Linked DNA regions of Homo sapiens: region 2 is linked to region 1. Evidence: promoter capture Hi-C in 16 types of primary human blood cells and fetal thymus (Javierre and others, 2016). All regions are on one chromosome and are shown on one strand. The core of a region is centred on a gene start or on the middle of the fragment in contact, and the rest is flanking DNA. Distances in the headings are between cores, read along the strand shown. Region 1 holds the start of BMPER (BMP binding endothelial regulator). Region 2 has its middle 11 kb from the start of LINC00997.

The links. The method cuts DNA at HindIII sites, captures the fragments that hold promoters and counts their contacts. A CHiCAGO score of 5 or more calls a contact.
Region 2: a contact is called between a fragment that was not itself captured here and the fragment with the promoter of BMPER in region 1, in 4 of 17 cell types (non-activated CD4 T cells, naive B cells, M2 macrophages and 1 more). The highest score is 8.1, in non-activated CD4 T cells.

Annotation. Positions count from the first base shown.
Region 1 is chr7:33,904,174-33,907,116 of GRCh38, forward strand. BMPER (BMP binding endothelial regulator) reads left to right here and starts at 1,366. Exons shown (of 15, transcript NM_001365308.1): 1 at 1,366-1,573; 2 at 2,645-2,730. The coding sequence starts at 1,441. The HindIII fragment of the contact is 6,002 bases long and covers 1-2,943 here.
Region 2 is chr7:32,767,722-32,770,664 of GRCh38, forward strand. No RefSeq gene overlaps it. Among named protein-coding and RNA genes, the nearest start is that of LINC00997, 11 kb to the left of the region's middle. The HindIII fragment of the contact is 240 bases long and covers 1,448-1,687 here.

The sequences.
Region 1 (2,943 bases), core at 116-2,615:
TCGCGCCTTCGTACTTTGGTTACAAAAATCATCTCTCTGCGATTGCACCCCTTTTGAGTAGAGGGTGCCACTGCGTGGGGAGGAGGCGGCGATTCAGCAGGGGGATCACAGGAGCTGACTCCCCGACACCCAGTGCTGCAGAGGCGAGAGGGCGCAGCCGGGCTGAGAGAGCGACGGAGCTCCGAGCTGCAGAGGCCGCCGCGCGGCGGCCCCCGCCAGAGATGAGCGGTGGGGCGGGGGTTCCTCCCTCTTTTCGGGTGAATGAATGATTAGTCAAACACCACCTCCCCGCCCCGGTCCGCCCGAGATTGGAAGGGAGGAGTCTCGGAGCGACTGTTCATTTTTTAAGGACGAAAGGCGTTTGCCTCGGTACGTTTTTAAATCGACCTTGTGTGTGTTTCAACTTCGGTCATCCCTAGTGTCAGGACGCGCAGACAGCTAAGCACAGAACACATCTCTAAGGCCACTTGCCCCTCTGTCCGCTCAGCCCCCTGAGTTCGCTGTCGCGCCCCCGCCAGAGGGAAGCAAAGCAGGGCATGAAAAGTTGCGGGGGCCCTACTGCCCCGGGTGTGTCGCTCCTTCCCAAAGGTGGGGCACCCGGGAGCGAGCAGGGTGGTGGGGCGCCCCTGCGTCCCGTTTGCTGCTCCCTCGCTGGATTGGGGCACCCGGGCCTGAGCGCTAGTGCTGCGGCATCCCCGGGGCTCCCCCAAGAAAGGGAGGAGGAGCCGCGCTCGCCCGGACAGTGGAGACGCGCCTTCTCGGCTCTGGTCCGCGCCCTGGGGCCCTGGCCTCCCTGGAGGGGCTGGGGAACTGGAAGCTGGGCCGAGAGAGTTCCCGCTGCAGCTATCGCGCAGTCCCTCCTGCGCCCGGGCGCCCCCAGCGGGTTCCGGGAGGCGCCCGGTGAGCCCACGTCTGTTGCGGCGGAGCGAGCGCGCTCCGGGAGGGCCGAGAGCCGGCGGGGCTGGCAGGAGGTGAGGAGTGCGGGAGTGGAGGACGCTGCGGCAGCGACAGCGACAGCCCCCGAAACAGTAGCGGCAGCCCGGGCGGCGGCTGAGCGGCAGTGCGCAGTCGGCAGCGCCGCAGCTCCTCTCAGTCTATCTCCGGCTGCCGCAACACCCCTTCCTCCTGGCCCCCTCTCCGGCGCTGAGGGGCTGACTGCTAAGCCACTGCAAGCAACTCCCTCAGGAAAAAAAAAAAAAAAGCCGCATCGGAGGAGCCTGGCCGCAGGACCCCTCCTCCCCGGGCGCCCCCACACCTTGGTCTCTCCCCCCGCCCTCCCTCACACCCCCCCGCCCCCCAGCTCTCGGGCGCCCGCCTCCCTCCTTCGCGGACGGTCTCCCGACACGCCGGCTGAGAGCCCTTTTCGACTGTGAGCTGCGGCAGCTGAGCAGAGGCGGCGGCGCGGGACCTGCAGTCGCCAGGGATTCCCTCCAGGTGACGATGCTCTGGTTCTCCGGCGTCGGGGCTCTGGCTGAGCGTTACTGCCGCCGCTCGCCTGGGATTACGTGCTGCGTCTTGCTGCTACTCAATTGCTCGGGGGTCCCCATGTCTCTGGCTTCCTCCTTCTTGACAGGTAGGGGAGGGGGCGGGAGGGACCGGCCCTCCGGGACGCCGGTTTGGTACCTGGGAAAGGTGGCGCTGGCTTGCCCCGGGGATGGGAGGGTGGGGAGCGCGCACCTTGGCGCTTGCCCTGCGCTGGTCGATGGGGATGAAGCGAAGCCCCGGGAGGGCTGGGAAGGCTGGTGAAGAGGTTGCGGGCTGAGAGGCTGTTGCCTTCAATGTAGTAATAATAGACATTCTTCTATTTGAATTTGAGAAATTATTTTATTTATTTTTAATGCTTTCCTCAACTTTTATTTTAATCTTTCCCTCTGTAGAACTCAGGAAAAAAATTTGTGCAGTTTTCCGCACATCTTCCTTTCTCATCTTTGGGGTTGCAATACATCCACTGTGCTAGGAGTGCTTTTTAAAGCACTGGCTCTCAAGACCTTGAATTTAAAGAAACTATCATTTAAAAAGGGCACTAATAGCCGGATATAATAATTATATGTTTTCAGGCAGGTGAAGACCTCAGCTGCTATTCTGAAGGACATACTTTACTGACACCTGGTGCAGAAAAGAAAATATGGAGTCAATTTCTAAGAGAAGGGAAAAGGGGATTGCGTTTCAAAAAGTGATTTAAACCTAAGACAATGCGAGACAGATTCATAGAAAGGCCTGTTTATTGACTCAGTTCTGAGTTTTGGTCAATTTAAAATCTGCCCCAATTTGAGGGTTTTTTTAAATTTTATTTTTTATTTTTTTCTTTGCGTATGGGGCTGTGTGCTTAGTTGAAATATCTTCATAAAGGAGGAGTGTTATTAAAAATCCAGTGAAATACTTGGAATTGTGCTTAGACCATCTGAGAACAGATAATTTATCCCTATATCATAGTCTTTTCTTTTTTGAACCTGTTTAAATAAAATTATTGAAAATGGAGTTGGGGGCAGAGGTTTTGCTTTGGTGAATTTAATAATTTAAACCACATTAAGAATTCTGAAGTTTGGGTAGAGGTTTCAAAAAGGATTAGTGTAAAAATTTTAAATGTTGAAATCATGCTGCTAAGCTAACTTTAAATGAAACATTTTTCCCCCCTGAATTTCAGGTTCTGTTGCAAAATGTGAAAATGAAGGTGAAGTCCTCCAGATTCCATTTATCACAGACAACCCTTGCATAATGTGTGTCTGCTTGGTAAGTGTGGAGATCAGGTAATATGAACTCAACTGCTCTCTCTGATAAGGTGAATCCATTAAATGTGATAATATAACCAGATCTTACAAATTGTCTTTATCATTACAAAATTGCACATAACTGTACATAGTTTGTGAGTTGAATCCAGTTAATTTCTGAGTTTTATGGACTTTGGCAATTTCCATTTCATCCAGCTGGAAATTCTTATCTTTG
Region 2 (2,943 bases), core at 318-2,817, 1.1 Mb before region 1:
CAAGTTCCTTGAATTATCTTGCATGCAAAATGTGGATTAAGATTAGTCATTGATACACCAAGAATGAATGTTACAATTTCAGAGTCATCACTGAAATAATAGAAATGCAAAAATACATATCTTTCAGACTAAAAGAGAAGGAAAGCTGAGTGACAAGTCACTCAAACAATTTGAAAGAAAGCAAGAAAAGAGAGAAACAGGGACATAAAACAGCTAGGATAAACAGAAAACACATAGGAAGATGGTGGTTTTTTTATCCAAACTTATTAGTAATTATAAGTGCAAAGAGATTAAATGCCCCAGTTAATAATCAAAGACTATCAGACTGATATACACCATAATAGATATGAAAAAATATTCTTAATAGCACTAATTATAAGAGCCTCAAATTGGAGGCAAAACAAATGCCCATTAGCAGTAGAATAGATAAATAAACTATGGTATATTTCATACAATGGAATACTTTACAGCAACAAAAAAAAATGAAGAAACTGCATATGCTTGCAGCAACATAAAAAAACTTCTAAAAACATAATATAAAGGTCAAAGACAGAGACATTAAAGATATCATATGATCTCATTTATATGAAATTCAAAACTAGCCAAAATTAAATTATCATATTTGGCAATGCACACATAGGTAATTGTATTAGTCCATTTTTCACACTGCTGATAAAGACATACCCAAGACTGGGCAATTTACAAAAGAAAGAGGTTTATTGGACTTACAGTTCCACATGGCTGGGGAGGCTTCACAATCATGGCAGAAGGCAAGGAGGAGCAAGTCACATCTTACATGGATGGCAGCAGTCAAAGAGCAACCTTGTGCAGAGAAACTCCCATTTTTAAAACCATCAGATCTTGTGAGACCCATTCACTATCACAAGAACAGTACAGGAAAGACCCATCCCCATGATTCAGTCATCTCCCACTGGGTCCCTTCCACAACACGTGGGAATTATGGGAGCTACAAGATGAGATTTGGGTGGGGACACAGAGCCAAACCATATCAGTGATAAAACTCTAAAGCAAAGCAGGAAATCACTTTTTGTAAGAGTCCAGATTGAAATATCTTTGTGGGGAGAGGGAGGAGATGTACAGAGAGGGGCTGGCAGAGTCTCTTTTTTGCTCTAGCTGGCAGGTTCAAGGGTGTTCAGGTTATTTTGGAAGCAGTGCAGAGAAGGGAGCCAGACTAGAAACAGGGAGGTGATCAACTGGGTCTCGGTTACATACAGAAAACAGCAGAGACAGCTGAAAGATCCTTCTCTGTGTTCACAGCCATCATCTATGACTAGCATCCAGTGATAGCAGGAACACTGATGCCAACATTTTTCAAAGTTTGCAGAAACGACTTGGCTCCTCCACAGAGCATTGTGAGTCAGTTCAGAAGAAATCAATATCCATCTTCTGTTCTCTTCTTGCCTGCCAAGGGGACCTGGAATCCTTAAGCTTTTGCTCCTGGTTTCCCACTTCAATATTCATCCAAAGAGTCTCCTCCTGCTTGTTTTCATTCTTTCTGCCCTTCCTTGTCCCCCAGGGTGGAGATCTCAAGTGCATAATACCCCACTATGCGGTGATGTTAGCCCCAGAGCACAGCTGAACACAGCATTCCTCAGGAGAAGATTCATCCTCTATATAGGGAACACTGGAGATATTGCTGCTCTAACCCCAAAGAACTCATCACCAAAGCTTGGGACTTTGGGCCCATGGTAGGCAACTGGAAGAGCTATTTGTGGCAAACAGTGTAACTCAAACATCATCATAACTATCTGACAGACTTTAAGGAGGCCAATCCAATGTTCTCAAGCCTGGCTGCATCATGAATCACTCAAGGAATTTATTTTTTATCCAGATTTCTGAACCCCCAACCTCGATTCTGACTTACTGGGTTCTGAGTAGAACATGGAAATCTGTATTTACAGCAACTCACCCAGGTGATTTATCCAGGTGGCTCTGGTGCAACTCTTCAATGGGATGGTAATTAGGAGCATCCCAGGGGGTCAGAGCTCACGTACCTCATGGCCAGGAACTGTGTAGGCCTCCTTTGCTTACATCTAAATGTTTTCCCCTGGTCCAACTGGAATACGAATGTTACCTCCTAAGAGTCCAACTTTATCACTTCTTCTAACCATCTAGATATCTGCTGGTAAACTCAAGACATCTCTAATTCTTCCTCTTTCCACTAGAGATTAAATGCATTTTTTTCACATAAAGATAGACTTTAATCTAATGTGGTTATGTATGCATATAAATGTCCAAATGAGAGCCAAGTTGGGAAATATGGCCATGTGTTGATGTGATGTCTTGGAACAAGGAAGGACACCTCTGCAGAGGTGTTTTGAGGGCTATACCAACATGCTGATGTGATCCCTTATCAAAGCACTCTAGAGCAGCCATTCTTAAATATTTTGGCCTCAAAAAGACCAAACAAGTCCTTTATGATTGCTTAAGTGTATTGTATGCATTGATATTTACATGGATATTTATAATCCATTCATGTTAAAACTTTAAAATGAAAAAATATTTGTTTATAAATCATTTACAAATAACAATAATAAACTCACTATATTAACAGAAATATCTTTTATATGAAAATAACTATTTTCAACAAAAATTTAGTGAGAAAAGTGACATTGTTTTAACTTTATGCAAATCTCTTTAAGTTTGACTTAATAGAAGACAGATTTTCATATCTTCTGCATTCAATCTGTTGCAATATGCTGTTTTGATGGAAATATATAAGGAAAATCAGTCCTCACAAATATGTAGTTAGCAAAAAAAAGAGTATTTTAATCTCCCTCTGCACTTAATCTGTTGCATTATAACATGCCATGTAACCTCTGGAAAATTCCACTGTACACATGACAGAACAAAAATGAAAAAGGCAAGTAACATCTTAATACTGTTAGAAAAATAGTTTTGACTTCACAGACCCCCAGGATT